Linked DNA regions of Homo sapiens: regions 2 and 3 are each linked to region 1. Evidence: promoter capture Hi-C in 16 types of primary human blood cells and fetal thymus (Javierre and others, 2016). All regions are on one chromosome and are shown on one strand. The core of a region is centred on a gene start or on the middle of the fragment in contact, and the rest is flanking DNA. Distances in the headings are between cores, read along the strand shown.

Evidence for each region. Contacts are between HindIII fragments. The CHiCAGO score rates a contact against its expected background, and 5 or more counts as called.
Region 2: a contact is called between a fragment that was not itself captured here and the fragment with the promoter of PLCB4 in region 1, in 1 of 17 cell types (megakaryocytes). The highest score is 9.2, in megakaryocytes.
Region 3: a fragment that was not itself captured here is called in contact with the fragment with the promoter of PLCB4 in region 1 in 1 of 17 cell types (megakaryocytes); the score reaches 6.2 in megakaryocytes.

Annotation. Positions count from the first base shown.
Region 1 is chr20:9,067,837-9,071,404 of GRCh38, forward strand. It overlaps PLCB4 (phospholipase C beta 4), which reads left to right and starts at 1,251. Exons shown (of 40, transcript NM_001377142.1): 1 at 1,251-1,370. The HindIII fragment of the contact is 10,687 bases long and covers 1-3,154 here.
Region 2 is chr20:8,849,351-8,852,918 of GRCh38, forward strand. All of the region lies in intron 31 of PLCB1 (phospholipase C beta 1), which reads left to right. Among named protein-coding and RNA genes, the nearest start is that of RNU105B, 20 kb to the left of the region's middle. The HindIII fragment of the contact is 5,550 bases long and covers 1-3,568 here.
Region 3 is chr20:8,873,667-8,877,234 of GRCh38, forward strand. All of the region lies in intron 31 of PLCB1 (phospholipase C beta 1), which reads left to right. Among named protein-coding and RNA genes, the nearest start is that of RNU105B, 44 kb to the left of the region's middle. The HindIII fragment of the contact is 1,453 bases long and covers 804-2,256 here.

The sequences.
Region 1 (3,568 bases), core at 1-2,500:
AGGCGGAGTGGGGAGGAGGGAGCCCTCCGGAGTTCGGGAGCAGCACGTTGTGAGGGTCCACACAAGGGTGATGCCAGACCGAACACCATTAGGGCCTGGGTGTGAGTGTGACTCGGAGGCACCTGGGGGCCGTTGTAGGGCCGGGAAAAGCCAGGAACTGGCTGGAGCAGCACCCCAGCATCCCAGGGACCAAAGTCTGGGGGATTTGCATGTCTGAGGTTGCACTTGTGGGAAGACTTTTTGGAACCACTTAATCTCTGTGGCTCTGTGTAAGACCCGCGAAATAAAAAGAGGCAGTAGTACTCTTTGGAAGATTGTTTTAGGGATTAAATGAATAAAAAGCGTTTAGAACACTGCAGGACGCATTGTAGGCGCTGTATGGGTTTATGAAACCGAATATAAACAAATAAGCACGTCCCCCACCCAGCCAACGGCTTTGGGGGCCCCGTTCTGGCCAGTCCTGAGCCCCTCCACACGGCCCACGGCGGGCTGCGGGTCTCCCATCCGAGGAGGGTGCCGCTTTTCTGCCCCCGCTCCCTGGGTTCTGCGCCCAGCGCCATCCCGTGCGCCCCCGACCCTTGGGCATGGGGCACATGCCGCGGGGAGCCGCCAGGGAGACCCCAGAGGAGCGCGCCGCGGGCCGGCTTCCCCGGATGCCCCACCCACCTCCTCTTGGCGCTGCCCACCACCTGCCTCGGCTGCTCGGCCCCCGGCTCGCGAGGCTGCGCCCCCGACCCAGTCGGCGCCCACTCCTCGCCCTGCGGGCTCGCGGCAACTGGGCGGCCGGCCCGGCCCCTGCCCACCCCCAGCCCAGCCCGGCGCGCCGCACTGGGCATGCTCCGTAGCCTGGGCAGGTTGGGGCTGCGAGGCGACAGCTCGGGCTCTGGAGCCGGGAGGCGAGAACGAGGAGGGAGGCTCGGGGGCAGGGGAGGAGGAAGCGGCTGGCCGCTGAGGGGCGGCGGGGCCCGGAGCGGGGGACGCGCAGGGCCCGGCGGTGGGCGGGCGGGTCGGCGCTGCCCCGTGGGCTCGCTGGGGAGCCACGGCGGAGACCCCCGCCCTCAACTGAGGTAAGGACCGCGCGGCGCGGAGACGGGGAGGCGGGGAGGCCAGGGAGGGGGTGCGGAGGCAGGCGGGAGGGCGGGACTGGGGTGCGCCGGGAGGGGGCTTGGCGGCGGCTCTTTATGGCGAGGAGGGGGTGGTGGCGCCGCGCCGGGAGCAGTAAGTGAGCTGCACCGCCAACAAGATCTCTCACACACAGACACACACACGCACACGCACACACGGGCGCGCACACACACGCGCGTACACACTGGGTCTCCAGGCAGCGGCCGTCGCCGCATCCCCGGCAGCAGCTCCAGGCAAAGTGACAGGTAGGAAAAGGCATTTCGGGTCCCGCCCGAGGATGCTCCCGCCCGCCTTGGCCCTCAGGGCTTGTTTGCTTTCCGCGGGTGCGTCCCGGACGCGCGCGCGCGCGCACCCGGATGCCCAGCGGGGACCCCGTGCAGGTGCCGGGTGCCAGGCGCCCTGTGCGCGCGGGAGGCAGGGGACCCAGACGCCATCCCCCTTCCCCTGCAGTCATCGCCTGCTGGGTTTCCTCAGACTCTCTCCAGACGTTCACCCTCTTCTGGGCTAGAAATAGCTCGGCTCGACGTGTATATGATTATTTTGGTTGGAAATAGTTGGCACCGTGCAACGCATGTAAATGTGTATGCGTGTGGATCTTCTTGCCTCTTCTGGGGAAATCATAGAAATGATTGACCGTTTCCACTTAAAACAACACTGACAGGCTTAGCACTCATTGGGGGCAGGGTTCGGGCCTCCTAAAAGCCTGTTAGTGAAGGAAATCCTTATTTTCAGAATTTTAAAGTTGCTTTTGCTTTAACCAATTAGACTCTGTATAGTACAATACTTCTGAGTGTAGACTTCGTATATGGTACTGAATCGAAGTATGGAAATATGGAATTCTCTAATTTCCAAGTGTGTTTAAGTGCAACTTTATCTAGAATCATAAAACTAGCATTTTCCTAGAGAGAAATACAACTGCCCACTATAGTTTCCATAAATATGGATATATCTGAAAGATGACCCTACTCTTCCAACTTTTTTTCCTCTTAACTTCTGTAGTGATTCTAGCTATTGTTCTAAAACATGTATTTGAAATTTAATTTTGGCCAGAATATTCAGGAAAGGTGTTTTTTTTTCCATATACGTAATACTTAGTGGTCTATATATTTAAGTTATAGGTATGTGGAGATAGCTGTTTAATAATTCTTTTTGTCTGGAAATAACGTTATTCAAACATAGGCAGCTATGTATCATTTTAAAATGATATTGAATTTCCCCTTAAAGAGAAATCAGATTTATAATGTAAACATGACCAGGAAAAGCAACTGGTGACTTTACCTGGGGAGGCTCCAAGGAGGTTAAGAAAGTATCTGAACAACTGTGTTTTTCAGAATAGAAAAATTGTGTGTGTGTTGCGGGGGAAGGTAAAATTTTAACTTTATTCTTTTATTGTTTTCAAGACGGCTGTTTTCAGAAATGTGTGGTTGAACTGAGACCCTCATATTTTATACTCTTCAAATTTGAGTGGCCTCAGTTATAGAATCATACAGAAGATCAAAAGTCTAGCTCAGCAGGGGCATGTGGTGTAATCCCTCACTATCTGTGTTATGTAATCCAGAATGCTGTTTTTCATAGGACAGTCTTGCATGATCCTTAGCTGGTGTATTGATCTATTATATCATCTTCCTTTTGAACTGTAGTAGTTTAATAAATGATTGCCATCTTTGGAGAGCACCTGTTTTCATAAAAAATCACTTTTTGAAATGGCAAAACATTTTTATTGGCACTTTTATGAACGTAAGACTTGCTGCCAGACGAGTAACCTTTTGAATGTGACGTATTATAACATATCTAAAGGTACCATGTATTAGCTTATGGACTACACTTCCTTCCAACTATATTATTACTCAACAGTTGGAACTTAGTTTTGATGGTATTACTACCCAGCTCTGAATTAATCGCTGTTGAAAATGCTGTTCTACAAGTAACTGTCAAAACAGAATTTCTAACTCCATTTGATCACTGGGTGCACATTTAAATCTGTCGGAATAACTCTACCTTTATTTTGCAAATGCATACCCACGCAGAAAGCTTTGTTCTAAAATACTCTATTGGAAGTTTTATATTTATATGCCTGAAAATGTGAGTGATGTTAAACTGCTTACATGTCCTGGAATCGTGAGGCGGTGTGTTTTTGCCTTATGAGATAAAGAAATATGGTAGTTGAAAAAGTGTTACAGGTTACCAAAAACCTTTTGCAGGAAAAGATTTTAAAAATTTGTATCACCTCTGAAATATTTCAACCACAGCAGAGTCCATTCAGTGCCCGTAGCACAGCTAGTTTGCCTTTCCCAAGATTACACACAACTGTCTTTAGATTAATGTATACTGCTGACTTTGGCAACATGGGACAGTTATATTTGGCAATTTCAGTAAACATGGTATTTTCCTAAGATACCACTAACTTCATTTTGGGGTTTGATTTATTAAGAATTGAAATGTT
Region 2 (3,568 bases), core at 480-2,979, 220 kb before region 1:
AAGCTCATACAACTATTCACTGACAGAGTTAAGAACCAAGCAGGGCCGGGTGCGGTGGCTCACACCTGTAATCCCAGCACTTTGGGAGGCCGAGGCAGGCAGATCACCTGAGGTCAGGAGTTCGAGACTAGCCTGGCCAACATGGCAAAACCCCATCTCTACTAAAAACACAAAAATTAGTAGGGCATGATGGTGTGCGCCTGTAGTCCCAGCTATGTGGGAGGCTGAGGCTGGAGAATCGCTTGAATCTAGGAGGTGGAGGTTGCGTTGAGCCGAGATCATGCCACTGCACTCCAGCCTGGGTGACAGAACAAGACTCCATCTCAATAAAATAAAATTAAATTAAAAATTAAAAGAAAATATAAAAAAAAGAACCAAGCAGGGCTGAGCGCGATGGCTCATGCCTGTAATCCCAGCACTTTGGGAGGCCAAGGTGGGCGGATCACGAGGTCAAGAGATCGAGACCATCCTGGCCAACATGGTGAAACCTCATATCTACTAAAAATACAAAAATTAGCTGGGCATGCTGGTGCAGGCCTGTAGTCCCAGCTACTTGGGAGGCTGAGGCAGGAGAATTGCTTGAACCCAGGAGGCGGAGGTTGCAGTGAGCCGAGATCACGCCACTGCACTCCAGCCTGGCGACAGAGCAAGACTCCGTCTAAAAATAAAAAAAAGAACGAAGCAGCCCGGCCCTAGAACTCATGTGCTCTAAACCACTACTCTAAACCAGCTCTTTAAAACACGTAAGTGTAAATGTGCACAGATTTCAATTTAGAGCTGTGTGACTCCCAGCAGATTTCTTTTTTCTTGAGCAAAGGAGATGCCACTGTGAATATTAATGTCTGTCATAGCCAGAGCAGACACTCTTCAGCTTTTGGGCAAACTAAAATGCTCAAAAATACCCACAGGCACAACATTTTCTAATCGTGCTTCCAGAGCCAGGCAGTGTGTTCATGCATGTAAGACGCTGTATAAATGTAGGTAGTAGCACCAATAGTGCTCATGAATTATGGATGAAGAGGAACATCCAGAGTCAAACATTCCTGAGAAAGCAGACCAGGCTCCCTTTACTGGGTTAGGAAAAGATAAAAGGCTAAACTTCCCAAGGCAGTTGACTGGTGATTTTTCATTCTAACATCCGAAAAAATAGGAATAAAGTTGCTATGGTTTGAATATATGTGTCCCTTCAAAATTCATGCTGAAATTTAATCCCTAGTAAAACAGTATTAAGTGAGGACTTTACGAGGTTTAGGTCATGAGGGCCTTACCTCCATGAATGGGGATAGTGCCCTTATAAAAGGGCTTGAGGGAGCCTGCTTTGCTCTTTTTGCCCTTCTGCCATGTGAGGACACAGCAAAAAGGTATCATCTTGGATGCAGGAGATGAGCCCTCACCAGACGCCAAATCTTCTGGTGCCATGGTCTTGGAATTCCCAGCCTCCAGAACTGTGAGAAATAAATTTCTATTAATTATAAATTACCTGGTCTAAGATATTATGTTATAGCAGCAGGAATGAACCGAGACAGCAGCCTATTTCAGAAGCCTGTCTCTGATGCTCCTATTCCAACCAAAATCTTTAAGCCAGAGATCGCAACCAGTAACCTGGCTGAATAATCCACAAACATGGTTTATTGTACTCACACATTGTTATAATGTTTTTTTCTTAGTGTTCTTTCATCTTCTTGTTGAACAGGATGCCAACTTTAAAAATAAGGAGATATCCTTTAAAAATGTTTCCTTGCTTTAATTGAAATATTCAAAGACCTGGCTCACTGGGGCCATGTTCCAATGGACTTGGCAGCAATTAGCTGGATCTGAGGAGTGGAATCCCCGATTAGATGACCTTGTGTGCTCCCTTTAGCCACAGTCACCATCACTGTTTGTTACCTTATACTCACATACCACCACTGACTACCACCAGTGCTTTTCACTCTTTTTCTTTACCTCTCTTCCTCCTAAAGTCATTTGCATTTAATAACTGCTAATTTCCTGTTATTCAAGGTCCCTAGCAATTTATGATATATGTGTTTGCTTATATAAACTTGCTTCAACAGGCCACAGTAGCCTAGGAGGTAGTCATTGCTTGAAGATTTATACTGGGCTGCAAAATAACCCTGAGTGTCTACTCAACTTTCAGTTCGAAGTGCCTTATCCTGTATGGTAGTGGGTTACTTTTTGCATGCCAACTCCATCATATGGTAGCAGATGCCTGGGACTTTTTGTTGATAAGGATTCCAAGGCTATCTAGATGGCCTGGAAGTACCACTAAGATTGATTAGTGATGTCTGCCATAGTCACCCCAGCTGCTGCTATCCATCAGAAGTCATCAGCCCTGTGCTTCCATCTCCATTTCTTTTTTTGGTTTTTTTTTTTTTCATTTTTTTCATTTTTTTTCATTCTGAGTGTCATCATTTAGGAGACTCACACAAAAGTAAGAGAATCTTTCTAGGGAAATGTTCTCTTTTCTTTGCTTGAACTGAAGTTGCAATTTAGAGGCAGTTACCCTTAACCCTGGCATCTTTTTCCCCCAGTACAAGTGTTCATAGAAGCACCACATGTAACAGGCAAAAACTGGAAACAACCTAAATGTCCATCAACAGTGGCATGGGTAAATGAAGTGTGGTGTATTCACATACTTTATAGCAATTTTTAAAAACCCGACTACAGCTATCTACAACAACAAAAAAAGAAGCCAGATGCAAAGAACTATAGACTGTATGACTGTTTATATAAAGTTGCAAAATAGGCTGCTGTCTCAGTTCATTCCTGCTGCCAGGTTTTATCTCTGCCTCCTAATTATTCTGTCATTTCAGCCACATCTGGGGTTACTAAGTGTCATTTCTAAATTGTACCTACTGACATTAGCGAATATCTTTTTGCTGGTCTCCCAAAAGAAAGATCCATCATTTTTCTAACTCCTAATTGAAGAACCTAAGAAAATTGCTGTGTTACAAAGTGTTCCTTTTCATCAACCACAAAACAATCCTCCAGGACAGAGTTGAGCAAAACCAATTCTGTCCAATCCAGTCTGAGTCTAATGACAGAAACTACTCTGAGTTACCTTATTCCTGATATTCCAGGACTGACATCAGGGCCTCTGTCCCAAGAAGTGGAGGAAGGCAGAACTCCCACTAGCCATATCCCAGCCTCCTTAAGATGGGCCTGTGGTCCTGGGAAATCTGCTCTTCTAACCTTTCCTTTGTCCACAGAAGCCACATCAGTAGAGGGTCAGTTACAGACAAGGGGCACACAGTGAATAAGGAGGCACTCACTTCTTGGATTAATTGGCTTAGTGTGAGAAGGCTCACTTTTACATCCTAAGATTGGAAAGTGCCAGAGGCCCCCACAAATCTCCAAAAGCATAGTTTGCTCTCCAATTTTCTCAACTCTTTCCCGGTTTGTAATGTTTATTGTTTTCTTATAATATTTACCAACCATCTTACCTCACCAATGCTAGATCCTACAGGTAACAGAAGCACAGTATACCAGAATGATCACATCCAATAGCCCCTGGCTGGCTCCAGGTGTCATGAAGTGACCTCTGATTTTGTTACTGCCCCTGAGTGGT
Region 3 (3,568 bases), core at 280-2,779, 190 kb before region 1:
GTTATTATCACAGTATGTATACAACTATAGGTACATTTTTTCACTTATCACAAAAATATAATTATTTCTCCCTGTTTTCAAAGCCATTGGTTTATATTATTTGACTACCTCATAGTTCTTTAAGTGAGAGCCTTATGATTTTTTTACAGAAACACTTACGTTTTATTCATGTTTTTGCTGTTTCTTGGCTTTTTTGTTAGTTTTACTATTTTCCCTGATCTTTAGCAGTAAATTCCAAAATATTCTGAGCAAGATAATTAGAGTACCATATTATTATTGCTGCCTCTCAAAGGCTAGGAGATATATTTTTAAAGTGTTAAAAGACTATAAGGAATTAAATTTTAAATATATGCAGCATGTATTTTACATCTCAGAATTGCTAAGCGATTAAATTTCAAATGTTCTCACCACAAAAAATGGTAAGTATTTGAGGTGATAAATATGTTAATTGGCTTTATTTAATTACTCCATGTTGTATTTATAAATCATGGCATCATTCTGTACTACATAAATACATACAATTTTAAATTGTCAATTTTATTTATATATATGTGTATGTACACACACACACACACACACACACACACACGCACAACAGATGCTCCCAGAGAAGAAAAAGAATAAAATAATTGAAAATGTCTACTGAGAAAACAAACTGAAACAAGTGATCCTATGTCTATATTTAAGGTAACATAACCATACAAAGAATATAATTACTTTCAGTGAATTTTGGCAGAGTAATATAATTGTGCATCCTTAGTAGGATATATTTGATGAATAAAAAGAACTTCAAAAAAGTCTCAAGCTTCATTTGCTTATTTTATTGACAGGTCATAATATTGAAACTATTTCTGGATATATTAATATAAAGCAAATAAATAAATATGCTAATGCTATCTGAAAGCAACCTTTTTAGGAAACGTATGCTTCAGTCTTTATGGGTGAAATGTCATGATGCCTGAAACATTTTCAAATGACTCAGCAAAAAATATAGAGATAGACAATACATAATGCATATGTGGCAAAACATTGAAATTAAGGTAGTTTTCACAGGCTGGTTTTGTTTTGTTTTATTTTTTGGTTGCTTTGCCTGTACAAACAATGCTAAATCAATGCTATTTTTCCTGTACAAAAATAAATATCTTAGTGTATTCATTCTTATATGTTGGTGGTTTTGTTTCTGTGGGCCAAATTCCCAAAAATGGAGTTGCTGGGTTACAAGCCTATGTTTGCCTTCTTATAAATTTTGTCAAATTATTGCCCAATGTTTCAAAGTGTCAATTTCTCAGAATGTTATTGCTTCTTTAAAGGAAATTTCTTTTAAATTTAATGAATTAAATTAAATTAATCAATATAATAAATGTCCCTTGAAAAGGTATTGTGCTATTGCATTTCTCTAATTGTTAATGAGCTGCTTTCATCTATATTTCAAATATATATAGTTGTATTGTATATATATTCTTTGTATTTTATTTCTTTTCCTATGAATTGCTTTATTTATGCTCATTTTTCAGAGAAATGGATTATTTTCATCTAGATAAAGATATCTATATTTTTCTTTCTTATGTTTTTCTGTCTTGCTTAAAAAGGTCTCTGTACCCCATGATTATACAGTTATTCACAATCACAATTATACTTTTGGCACATTCTCCTAGACAGAAGCAAATAACAAGCAAATAACAATCCTAAGATTGTTATTGGCTTCATATTTTATATTACAAAGTGGTATATATACTATACGTAGTATATATAATATACATAATATAAATATTAATATATGTAATACATTATATTAATTTATTATGTTTATATTATAAAATATTTATATAACATATAAAATATTTTTATATATAAATATAATATATTAATATTTATATTATAAAATACATTGGCCTTATATTTTATATTAAGATCTTTCATACACTTCATTGGGCAAAATGACCTGAGTTGGACTCTGGAATTCCAAATTTTGAAAACCTTGCAAATATCTGTCTGCACATTATCCAGCTGCATATTTTTTTTTAAGTTTTCTCAATTCTTCTTTGTTATTCCATTGTGGCTTATTGTTCTCTGGTTTCAATTTGTTTCCTTAGGAAATTGGTTTGATTGTCTCTGATTCATAACTCAGTAATCTGTCTTATATTTATGCCACATTTATGTTATACTGGGTTTTGTTTGTTTGTTTTCTGATTGTAAGCTAACCTTCAAGAGTAACTTTGCTTGCTCCTTGGCCTTCACTTATTTTTTTTATCTAAAAGCTTTCCTTAACTATATCAAATCTCTGCCTTTTTTAAAGACAGAAGAAAAGAATGTCAGAGTCAGAAAAGCATCCCAAGTACAAAAATCTTTGACAACACAGGAAGAATTGAATACATTTGAACTTGACCGTATTGCCTTTTCCTGCTTAACTACCCAGAGTTCACAAAAATGACTAGTGGGCAATGTCTTTTGAAAATCAAGTTAACTGAGAAATTTAGAATTTGAGCCTGACTAGTCAAATTAAAGAACTGGGCCTATAATAAAACAAACTCTGACAACACTCTTCTTTATTAATATCTGAGTATAATAATAACAACTCATCTTAAATTTAGAGGTTAAATTCAATCATGTTCTTTCGTCTTTCTTGTTCATTTTCCAAAAAGAGGTCTTATGAACTTAAGATTAAACAAACTCAAGTTTGACAATGTTATGCTAGAAAGGCTCCAAGGCATAGCCTACAAAATCACATTTGTCTTGAAAATCTATCTGTCCTGTGGTGATTTTTTTTCCAAGAATATGCTTTGAGGCCACAGCAATGAAAGGATGGGGCCAGCTGTGTTAGCTTATGAGTATTTTATGGGTCCAGGCCACATAATGAGACTACTTTCTGTTCCCCTCACTCAAAGTTATAGCCATAATACTGCTGCCTAACAACCAACCATAAAAATCAGTCACAAAACAAGCATTTGCTAAGTTGATGAGTCTATGAACTGGTTCTGGTCTGGACCAGGCTCACCTGATCTCAGTAGGCTTGTTCATGCCTGTGTTTAGCTGGTGGTCAGCTAGGGGTGAGCTGGTTTAGAATAGCTTCACTTTTATATCTGATAGTCAATTGAAGTGATGCAAAAAGTATAATAACTGGGCCATGTGTCTCCTCTTCTGGCAAGCTAGGCTGAGCTTGTTCACATGATGGCTGAGTAAACTTCTAACTGTGAGAGCAGAAGCACACAAGGCCTTGTGACGTCTGGACTCAGAACAGCATATACTTTTGACACATTCTCCTAGACAGAACCAAATAACAAGGCCTCCCCAGATTCAAGAAGATGAGAAATACACTCCGTTCTTTGCTGGGATGGGATGAGCTGCAAAGTCACACCACAAAGGTTATGATTACAAGGAGGGGTGAAGAATTACTGCCATTTGCACGACCAATCTACCATTCCCACCTAACACCTTGTTTCACTTGCACAGAATAGAAATTCAACACATATTAGAGTACAAAACCCAGAATATGGCAATTAGATAGTATGATGCTGAACCTCAGAACAGAGGCAATCAAAAGGAAGCCCTGGTGATCTGTGGAGGACCA